2 separate regions of the Homo sapiens genome follow, and region 2 is linked to region 1. Evidence: promoter capture Hi-C in 16 types of primary human blood cells and fetal thymus (Javierre and others, 2016). All regions are on one chromosome and are shown on one strand. The core of a region is centred on a gene start or on the middle of the fragment in contact, and the rest is flanking DNA. Distances in the headings are between cores, read along the strand shown. Region 1 holds the start of NFRKB (nuclear factor related to kappaB binding protein). Region 2 overlaps ZBTB44 (zinc finger and BTB domain containing 44).

Evidence for each region. Contacts are between HindIII fragments. The CHiCAGO score rates a contact against its expected background, and 5 or more counts as called.
Region 2: a contact is called between a fragment that was not itself captured here and the fragment with the promoter of NFRKB in region 1, in 3 of 17 cell types (total B cells, activated CD4 T cells and M0 macrophages). The highest score is 6.2, in total B cells.

The regions. Positions count from the first base shown.
Region 1 is chr11:129,894,328-129,899,274 of GRCh38, reverse strand. It overlaps NFRKB (nuclear factor related to kappaB binding protein), which reads left to right and starts at 3,697. Exons shown (of 27, transcript NM_001143835.2): 1 at 3,697-3,779; 2 at 4,837-4,916. RefSeq lists a silencer at 3,541-3,980. The HindIII fragment of the contact is 7,376 bases long and covers 1-4,947 here.
Region 2 is chr11:130,307,849-130,312,795 of GRCh38, reverse strand. The region is part of intron 1 of ZBTB44 (zinc finger and BTB domain containing 44); the gene reads left to right. It also overlaps the pseudogene RN7SL778P. Among named protein-coding and RNA genes, the nearest start is that of ZBTB44, 4.6 kb to the left of the region's middle. The HindIII fragment of the contact is 2,125 bases long and covers 1,664-3,788 here.

The DNA of each region.
Region 1 (4,947 bases), core at 2,448-4,947:
GTTCTCACAGTGAAATTTGGAGAAAAATTCCCTCATGCTTCCAGCAGAGGAAGGGGAGAAGGAACCATTTTGAAATACTCCAGAGCTTTCTGATCTTTCTATTATAACAAGCACCGAACCTGCTGAAGTTATAGCAGAACCTCAGTCACCTGGAGGAAAGGAAATAGCCAGCCCCAGCCCATTCCAGCCATTGTCCCTCATCTAAGAGGGGATAACTGCGTAGCATTCGTGAAGTTCACAGTCCAGAGGCACAGGCTCACCAGAAGACTGAGGCCTCCTTTAGGAATACAGAATGCTTCCCCAACCCCAACACCTTACCACCACATTGCTAAAGGCCTACTTACAGAAGCTCTCTCTACCTGGCACATCATGACCAGCTATCAAGAAAAACATTACAAGGCATACTAAGAGGCAAAAGACACAAGTTTGAAGAAAGAGAGCAAACATCAGACCCAGAATTAGATATGGCCGAGATGTTGGAATTCACAGACTGGGAATTTGAAACAACTGTGATTAATATGAAAAGGGCTCTACTAGAGAAAGTAGACAACAAGCAATAACAAACAATGTAAGGAGAGAGATGGAAATCCTAAGAATGAGCTAAAATGCTAGAGATAAAAAATGAAGAGTAGGCTGGGCACGGCAGCTCATGCCTGTAAACCCAGCACTTTGGGAGGCTGAAGTGGGTGGATCATTTGAGGTCAGGAGTTCAAGACCAGCCTGGCCAACACGGTGTAACCCTGCTTCTACTAAAAATACAAAAATTAGCCAGGCGTGGTGGTGGGTGCCTGTAATCCCAGCTACTCAGGAGGCTGAAGTGGGAGAATCGCTTGAACCTGGGTGGTGGAGGTTGCAGAGAGCTGAGATTGCGCCTCTGCACTCCAGCCTGGGTCACAGTGCAAGACTCCACCTCAAAAAAAAAAAAAAAAAAAAAAAAAACATGAAGAGTAGCTGTGAGAGGCTAAATGGTAGACTAGACACATCTTAGGAAAGAATTGCTGAGCTTAAGGATATCTCAATAGAAACCTCTATAACTGAAAGACAAACAATATCCAAAAACTGTGAGATGATGAAAAAAAGGTATAACTATGCCTCATGGGAATACTAGCAGAAGACAGAGAAAGGAACAGAAGAAATATTTGAAGCAATAATGATTGATTATTTCCCCAAATCAATATGGAAGATGAAACCACAGATCCGGGAAGCTCAGAGGACACACAGGATAAATGCAAAAAAATCCTTCAAAACCAAAAAACAAATGAACAAAAAATGACTTTTCTTCAGAAACTGTGCACACAAGGAGCGAGTGGAATGAAATGTTTAAGGTGTTGAGAGAAAAAAGCAGTGTCTAACCTAGAATGCTGTAGCCCATGAAATTATCCCCCAAAAGCAAAGGGGATTTGTTGCCAGTAGACCTGCCTTGGAGAGAATGTTAAGTTTTTCAGAGAGAAGAAAAATGATAAAAGTCAGAACCTCAGATCTATATAAAGAAAGAACATCATTATTACCTTTAATAATGAAGGTAAAGGAAAAGTCTTACTTATTCTTTGTTGTTTTATTTTTCTTTTTACTTTTTTGAGACAGGGTTTCACTCTGTTGCCCAGGCTGGAGTGCAGTGGTGCAATCACAGCTCACGGCAGCTTCGATCTCCCTGGCTCAAGCGATTCTCCCACCTCAGTCTCCTGAGTAGCTGGGACTACAGGCACGTGCCACCACACCTGGCTAATTTTTTGTATTTATTTTAGTAGAGATGGGGTTTCACCATATTGCCCAGGCTGGTCTCCAATTCCTGGGCTCAAGTGATCCACCCATCTCAGCCTCTCAAAGGGGAAGATCCTGGGCATTGGGACTGAGGTGTTTTTGATACGTTCATGCAAAGATGCCTGGAGTGGGTGGTTGGATTTCTGGGTTGTTTGATTCATAATTGCTTGATTCATAATTGCCAAAACCTGGAAACAATGAAGATATCTTTCAGTAAGCGAATAGATAAAACTGTGATATATCGACACAATGGAATATTATTCAGCACTAAAAAGAAATAGGAGCTATCAAGCCATGAAAAGACATGGAGGAAACTTCAATGCCTGTTACTACGGGAAGGAAGCCAATCTGAAACGGCTACATACTATGTAATTCCAACTAGATGACACTCTGGAAAAAGGCAAAACTATGGAGACAAAAAGATCAGCGGTTGCCAGGGGTAGAGGAGAGGGAGAGATGAATATGCAGAGCACAGATGATTTTTAAGACAGTGAAATTACTCTGCATTATACTGTGATGGTGGGTAATGATGTATCAATGTAGGTTCATCAGTTCTTTTGTTTGAGATGGAGTCTCGCTCTGTCTCGCTCTGTCGACAGGCTGGAGTGCAATGGCTCAATCTCGGCTCACTGCAACCTCCGCCTCCCCGGTTCAAGCAATTCTCCTGCCTCAGCTCCCGAGTAGCTGGGACTACAGGTGCCCGCCACCACGACCGGCGAATTTTTGTATTTTTAGTAGAGACGCGGTTTCACCATGTTGGCCAGGATGGTCTCGATCTCCTGATCTCGGGATCCGCCCGCCTCGGCCTCCCAAAGTGTTGGGATTACAGGCGTGAGCCACCAGGCCGGGCCGGGTTCATCAGTTCTAAGAAATGTACCACTCTGGTAGAGGATGTTGATAAAGGGAAGGCGATGCATGTGGGGAGGTGGGGCGGGGAGTATTTGGAAAATATCTTTCTGCTCAATTTTGTTAACTTTAAACCACTTTAAAAAAACAAAGTCTATCAAAAATTATAGTTTACATTGTTTTTACTCTTTTTCTCTTTCTGGTCTTGTCACAATCTCAAGGTAAGGGAAATATCGGTGACAACTATAGAGTGATATTCCACTGCCATTTATACTCGATAGTTTCTAATTCAAGAGCCTCTCAACAGTGTAACAGGAACTTAGAGCATATGTGGAGCCAGTAGAGGAACAGAGATCGGGTTGTTTGGAAACTACTCTCTTCCAGGAAGGGAAGAACATTAGCTCGGCCGGCCGGCTTCTCTGGTCCCATCCACACACAGAACTGAGGATGGTCTCTGCGCCACTGCTGGGAGTACCTGGAATAAGTAGTGTGAAGCCGTACTAAGCAAAACCCAGTGAATAACAGGAAAGGGGCCTTCATATCTAAGAAGAGGAAAATGATGGAGTTTAACTTTAAAATGTGATCCTTCGATGTGTTTACATTCTTTCTGGACATCGAGGGCCCGGGGACGGGAAGGAGGAATGAAGGAACTCGGAAGCACAGGCTGAGGTCGCGTTCTACTCATGTCCTCAACTGTAAAATGGGCACTAATAGTGCATAGCTCACAGGGCTGCAGCACAAAGACGGTGGGTAGAAAGTGCTTAGCATAGGGCCTGGGGCAGGGTATGCTCTCTGCAAACGTCAGCTAATAGACGTGCCTTCGCTCACGGGCTATGGAACTTTGATTCGCGGTCAGGCAAAGACAGGCACTGTCTGGGGCCTCTGGAAGCTCCTAAATCAGGTGAGACGCGCAAGCAGGCTGGAACCTGCATCCCCAGGCCCAGCCGCGCGCAGGCACCCTCGCCGACCCTCCGCTCTCCCGAGCCGCTCCAGGACCCGCCCGCTGTGGCCCCGCCCCGGCACCCTCCAGGCCCCGCCCCGCGCTGCCCCGCCCCTTCCGCCGCGCAGGCCCAGAGCGTGCGCGCACCCAGACTCCTTGCGGGAGCGAGTGCGTCTGGGAGCCCGCGGCCGGAGAAGGGCTGCGGGTTAGGGGGCCGGCGCCCGCGGTTCAGGTGAGGGCGGGCAAGGGGCGGCGAAAGGGTTGAAGTGTCTCCTGGGAGTGGAGGGAGCGGGAGCGGGCGGCTGGGTCCGCGAGGTCGCTGCCCGTGTGGGCGTGGGGAGCGGGAGCGGGGCGTGGGGAGCGGTGCGACGCGTGAGGCTGGGGGTTAGGGTTAGGCACGGCGTGGGGGAGGGGCGGGGCCGAGCCGTGCAGTTCTGAGGATTGGACCCGGGCCTTGGGCCAGCCGGGCTGGCACCGGAGGGGAATTTGCTGCAGAGTTGAGGGCTTTGGAGCCGGCGGTTGCTCTGGAAGGACCCGAGGGTTTAGCTTCTGCGTTGGGGAGGGTCCAGCGGGGAAAGTTAGACCAGGTGCTGAAAGCCAGTGATGAGAGGCCGAGAGGCCTTCGTGGTCTAGTGAAGAGGTTCAGAACGCCCGAAGATCTGGAAATCCTTGGCTTCCGGGGTCCAACTCCCTGGCAGCTGCCTGGTTTTGGTATTTTGAGATTCTGTTCAGAATAGTGGCAGTGCAAAGGTTGTCAGTGGACTAGATTAACTTTAGCTAGACACGCACCGTCACTGAAGAAACTTGTGAGCAAGTTGTATAGAGACCTCCTAAGAGGCAGGTAGGACACTGACTTTGCAGTTGATAGTCTGTTCTATGCCAGTTCTGTTAAGAAGGTTTTATTCTGAGCATCAGGTTGCTTCTGCAATTTTTTTTTGGTGCTATTTTGAAGTTTTGTTAAACTCACATGCTATGTGCTGTCTCACCCGCTTCACTTATTTAGGCATAGGCATGATGAGGATGTCATTTCACCATGTGCTGAAGGGTGATGAGGGGGCACAGTTGCTTGGGGACCACCCACGTGACTTGACTCAACGCTTAAGTTTCTGCTATATCTTTACATGGATCTGAAATCTCTTCAAGGGAGCTTGAAATAATTTAGTGGAACATGCTTCATTTTACATATAGTTATTCTAGAACTGTTCTTTATCATTGGAGAATTTTGGAAAAGAAAAGTACCTGTATTACGTAATTCACACTGTCACTCATCTAGAGATTATTCATTGCAGGATTCCAGAATTGGAAATAACGGGAGGGAGGACCTGGTCCAGCTTCCCTTCCTCAAATAAGGAAATTGACACCTGGCGTGGTAAGATTTGTGGAATGTGGTGTTTGTGGAA
Region 2 (4,947 bases), core at 1,477-3,976, 410 kb before region 1:
TTCCTCAGTTGTTCCAAAGTGTCTTTGAGGGTTCTGCCCCCAGTTGTAGTCAGTCAAGATTCATGCATTGATTGCATTTGGTGATTAAGTCTTTAGTCATTTTGTAAAATGAAGAGTATCCATCCCCTCTTCTTTTTGCAGGGGAAATTAAATAGGATGAATATTCCCTCCCTTCTTTTTTTCTGACACGTAATTGACCAAACCAGTTGTCTTGTAAAATATACCCACATTCTGGATTTGTGCCCTCCTAATGTCATTTCGTTTATTCCTCTTTCTCCCTGAATTTCCTATTAACTGGAAGTTAGGTGTAAAGGAAGGCTTAATTAGCTTAAAGTAAAACTTCCTTTGGCAAGAATATTTAATAGGTGATGCTGTGTACCTCCTGTTGCATAATATAGGAGGCACACAATGTCAGATTCCCACACTATTAATGATGCTAAATGTAACCATTTGATTAAAGTGCTGACTACTGATCTGTTGTAAAGGTGTGGTTTGCCAGTTTGTGATTAATATGTAATCTTGGGGTAAAACTTGGACACTAAGCAAATACCCAGTTTCTGACAATCTTTTGCTTAGTGGTTTTTAGCACCCATGATGACTTTTGCTTAAATCAGTTATTGGAGGTTCTCTGTAAGGAAGAGATTTCCTTCATTAAGTGCAGGTAAACTATTGTTCTTCCCCAAAATGCAAATTAAATGTTAAATTTAATCTCTTTACTTTTCAATATTCATAGTAAAGAGCTGGAGAAATAGCCACCCCCAATGATGTTTTTTGGGGCAGGGGTGAATGATACCACTTCAGACTCTCATGGGTTTTAATTTATTCCTTGTTTTATAACCAGTTACAGTCGTCTTTCTTTTTAATGACCAAATTGTCCCAGATTTGGTCAGTAGGAACCATTTCAAGCTGACTATTGTGTGTCTTGACACCCCTGCTCCCCATTAATCTTGGAGTGCTTTCTGACACGAGTTACTCCAGGGTTTATCTTATACTTTCTTTGCTCACCTCTGGAAAGAGCTGTTTATCCAGGGAGTCTTGGTTCTTTTTAATGAGAAATCGTATATAGAAACCAAGTTCTGGATGTTTGGCATATTCGTTGCTGCTGCAGTATCATTGCTTCTAGGTGCTTTGAGAGGAGAGAACTAAGAAAAAGGTTTTTGCTTGTTTAATCATGAGTTCAGAGTGATATTCCAATTCCTATTTAACAAGCAGACTTTTTCTTCCTTGACTCTATATTTGTCTCTTGTCTTAAATGAAAATCTTGGTTTTTAATACAGTTAATAAACTGGCCAAGCACAGTGGCTCATGCCTGTAATCCCAGGACGTTGAAAGGCCGAGGTGGAAGGATTGCTTGAGCCCAGGAGTTCAAGGCCAGCCTGGGCAACATGATGAGACCCCATCTCTATAAAAAATAAAAAAATTAGCCAGGCGTGGTGGTGTGTGCCTGTGTTCCCAGCTGCTCAGGAGGCTGAAGCAGGTGGATCACTTGAGCCCAGGAGGTTGAGGCTGCAGTGAGCCATGTTCATACCCCACTGCACTTCAGCCTGGATGACAGAGTGAGACCCTGTCTCCAAAAAAAATAATAAACTTATTTGCTTTCTCCCACTGTATACATAAAATCATTTTAAAATTATAGTGCTGGTATTGCTAATACCAATAAGCTTCATGTAGTTTAAGATTTCTTTGCATTTATTTTCGTATTTAGACTATATTGCATGAAGAATGTATAATGAGTACTGTGTTCAAAAGTCACTTGAAATACTTTTCTCTGGTTATGCTACCAATTTGATATGGTTCATAGGTTTCAGTTTTTACTTAGGATTTTATTTTTGAATATGTAAAGTATGTACATAGTGTAGAAGTCAAAATAATGTTTTAAAACTATACTTGGATTAGCCGGGCATGGTGGCACATGCCTGTAGTCTCAGCTACTTGGGAAGCTGAGGCAGGAGAATTGCTTGAACCGGGGAGGTTGCAGTGAGCCAAGATTGCGCCATTGCACTGCAGCCTGGGTGACAAAGCGGGACTCCATCTCAAAAGCAAAACAAAACAAAAAAAAACTATATTTGGATAAACCTCATTAAAATTAGTTTTTAAAGATGAAGTATTGTTTACCTTTACCATACTCCTTTTAGTATCTACTACATTCTCACATCAAGCTCAGAAGAATTAGCAATAGACAAATTATGTTATGTGAAGCCACATAGAAGTACTTTTAAATTTTAAAATTAGATTCTGCTTCCTCTGGCAAAGAGAACTAAGACTAGTTTTTAGAAGTTAGCAGAGAAGTGGATTCCATGCTTACTTTTTTTTTTTTTTAAAGACGGGGGATTTACTGTGTTGCTCAGGCTGGAGTGCAGTGGCTATTCACAGATGTGATCCTACTACTGATAAGCACGGGAGTTTTGACCTGCTCTGTTTCTGACCTGGGCCACTTCTCTCATTAGGCAACCTGGTGGTCCCTCACTCCCTGGAGGTCACCATGTTGATGCCTAATTTAGTGCAGACACCCAATCGGCATAGGATACTACAGTCCAGAACTTCTGGGCTCAAGGGATCTTCCTGCCTCAGCCTCTTGAGTAGCTGGGACTACAGGCACACACCACTGCGCCCAGCTCTTTTTCTTAAATAGTGATTTAAAATAGTGATAGATTCTCATTATGTTGTCCAGGCTGATCTCTCAAACTCCTGAGCTCAAGTGATCCTGCTGCCTTGGCCTCCCAAAGTGCTAAGATTACACATGTAAGCCTGTAGCCGTAGGCCTAGATACCATATTTTTAAATAAAAATTCCATAAAAATAGAACTGTAGCTTTTACTTAAATCATGTCTTTAAAGAGGCAGGTAGTTGGTAGAGGTTTTATGACTCCATCTACTTTTTTAACTTTTTTTTTTTTTTTTTGAGATGCAGTCGCCCTCTGTTGCCCAGGCTGGAATGCAGTGGCTCGATCTCAGCTCACTGCAATCCACCTCTGCCCCCTGGGTTCAAGCGATTCTCCTGCCTCAGCCTCCCTAGTAGCTGGGATTACAGGCATGTACCACCACGCCCAGCTAATTTTTGTATTAGTAGAGATGGGGTTTCACCATGTTGTCCAGGCTGGTCTCGAGCTCCTGACCTCAAGTGATTCACCTGCCTCGGCCTCCTGAAGTGTAATCCTGGCCTCCTAAAGTGCTGGAATTACAGACGTGAGCCACTGCGCCCAGGTGACTCCATCTACAACAAAACTGGCATAAATATGCTATGTACAGATAAAAAGGCATTTGGATATGTGATCAGTGGAGATAACACATTTTGTTTGGGTTGGACCAAATTTGATATAAATTCATAATTATGTGATCTCAAATGAAGTTTTAAGAGGGAGCAGTGTTCATCTAAAGTAAGCAGAGCACAATTAGGCAGTTTATCAGCCTCCTGTCAACCAAGTGCTGAAAAGCAAAACTGTGCCTGTAGTGTGTTTTCCTGTGTTCATCCTCACTGTCATAGGTCACACTAGCTGAGGCTGGCGTTGCAGGTGGTAAAGGAATTACCAAGGCAATTGTAGGTAAAGAAGGGCAGATTTATTAGAGAAAGTATGAAAGTAGGTTGGTTGCAAGGGTGCAACGGGCAGATCAGCAAGAGAGAAGCTGACTGCCAGGAGACAATGGCTTGCTGGGCATGTTACAGGATGATGCTTCTGCTGTGTGCTGCAGAGAGGGCTATGTGCAGTACTGATAAGGCCAAGGTTGCAGTGAGCTAACTTGCATTTTTCTGTCAGCTGAGAGTCTGGTGATAAGTTGAGTGCAGAAAGCTTGTGAGTTATTTGTGCAAGAGGGCTGTGTGTCTTGGACCATGAAGAAAGGCAGACTTATACCTTATCTGCTTTTTCTTTTTGCTGTACCCTTTTCCCACCCGCCTGACTCCTTTTCCCTTACTAGGACTCCACAATCACTGCTTTCAATAACAGAGTGAACATCTAGTTCCATTAGGGAGTGGAGTGGGAAGATGGAGAATGCTTGCACTTGGACCCATTCACCCTCATTCTGTCTTTAATCTCAGTAAAATACATACACTACCCAAGGTTCTTAGAACATATAAGGTGATGAAGAAGAATACTATAAACAGTTGCATGGGTATGTGTAGCCATGTAGCAGCTAGAACCTGTTGTGTAGGCTGAATGAACTAATACAGTGTTGATAATAATGCTAACATTTGTTATGCCCTTTCTGTATGCCAGCTGTGCTAAACATTTTATACATTATCTTATTTAAATCTCACATTAACACTTTGACATTGCTACTAGTATCTTATTTTGCAGTAAGGAAACTGGTATCTAAAAGCATTAAATGACTTGCCTAGAGTATCACAATAAGTGGCCGACCCAGGTTTCAAATTCAAGGCTGTTTAGAGTTAGCACTTAGCTGCTTTGCTCCACCTCACAACTAAATGTAACAAGTCATAAAAATTGAATAAATTTTCAGTCACCATGAATACGGAACTACATGACTGATGCTGTAACAACCTCAGAGATTGCAACGGGGATATGTTCTGAGAAATGCGTCGTTAGGCGATTGTGTCATTGTATGAACATCATAAAGTGTACTTAGACAAAACTTGATGGTATGGCCTACTCTACATCTAGGTTATATGGTATAGCCTGTTGCTCCTAGGCCACGTATCTGTACAGCATGTTACTGTACTGAATGCTGTAGGCTTTTGTAATGCAGTGGAAAGTATATGTATATCTAAGCATATCTAAACCTAGAAAAGGTGCAGTAAAAATATGGTATTACAGGGTTGCGCACGGTGGCTCATGCCTGTAATCCCAGTACTTTGGGAGGCGGAGGCGGGTGGCTCACCTAAGGTCAGGAGCTCGAGACCAGCCTGACCAATATAGTGAAACCCTGTCTCTACTAAAAATACAAAAATTAGCCAAGTGTGGTGGCATGCACCTGTAGTCACAGCTACTTGG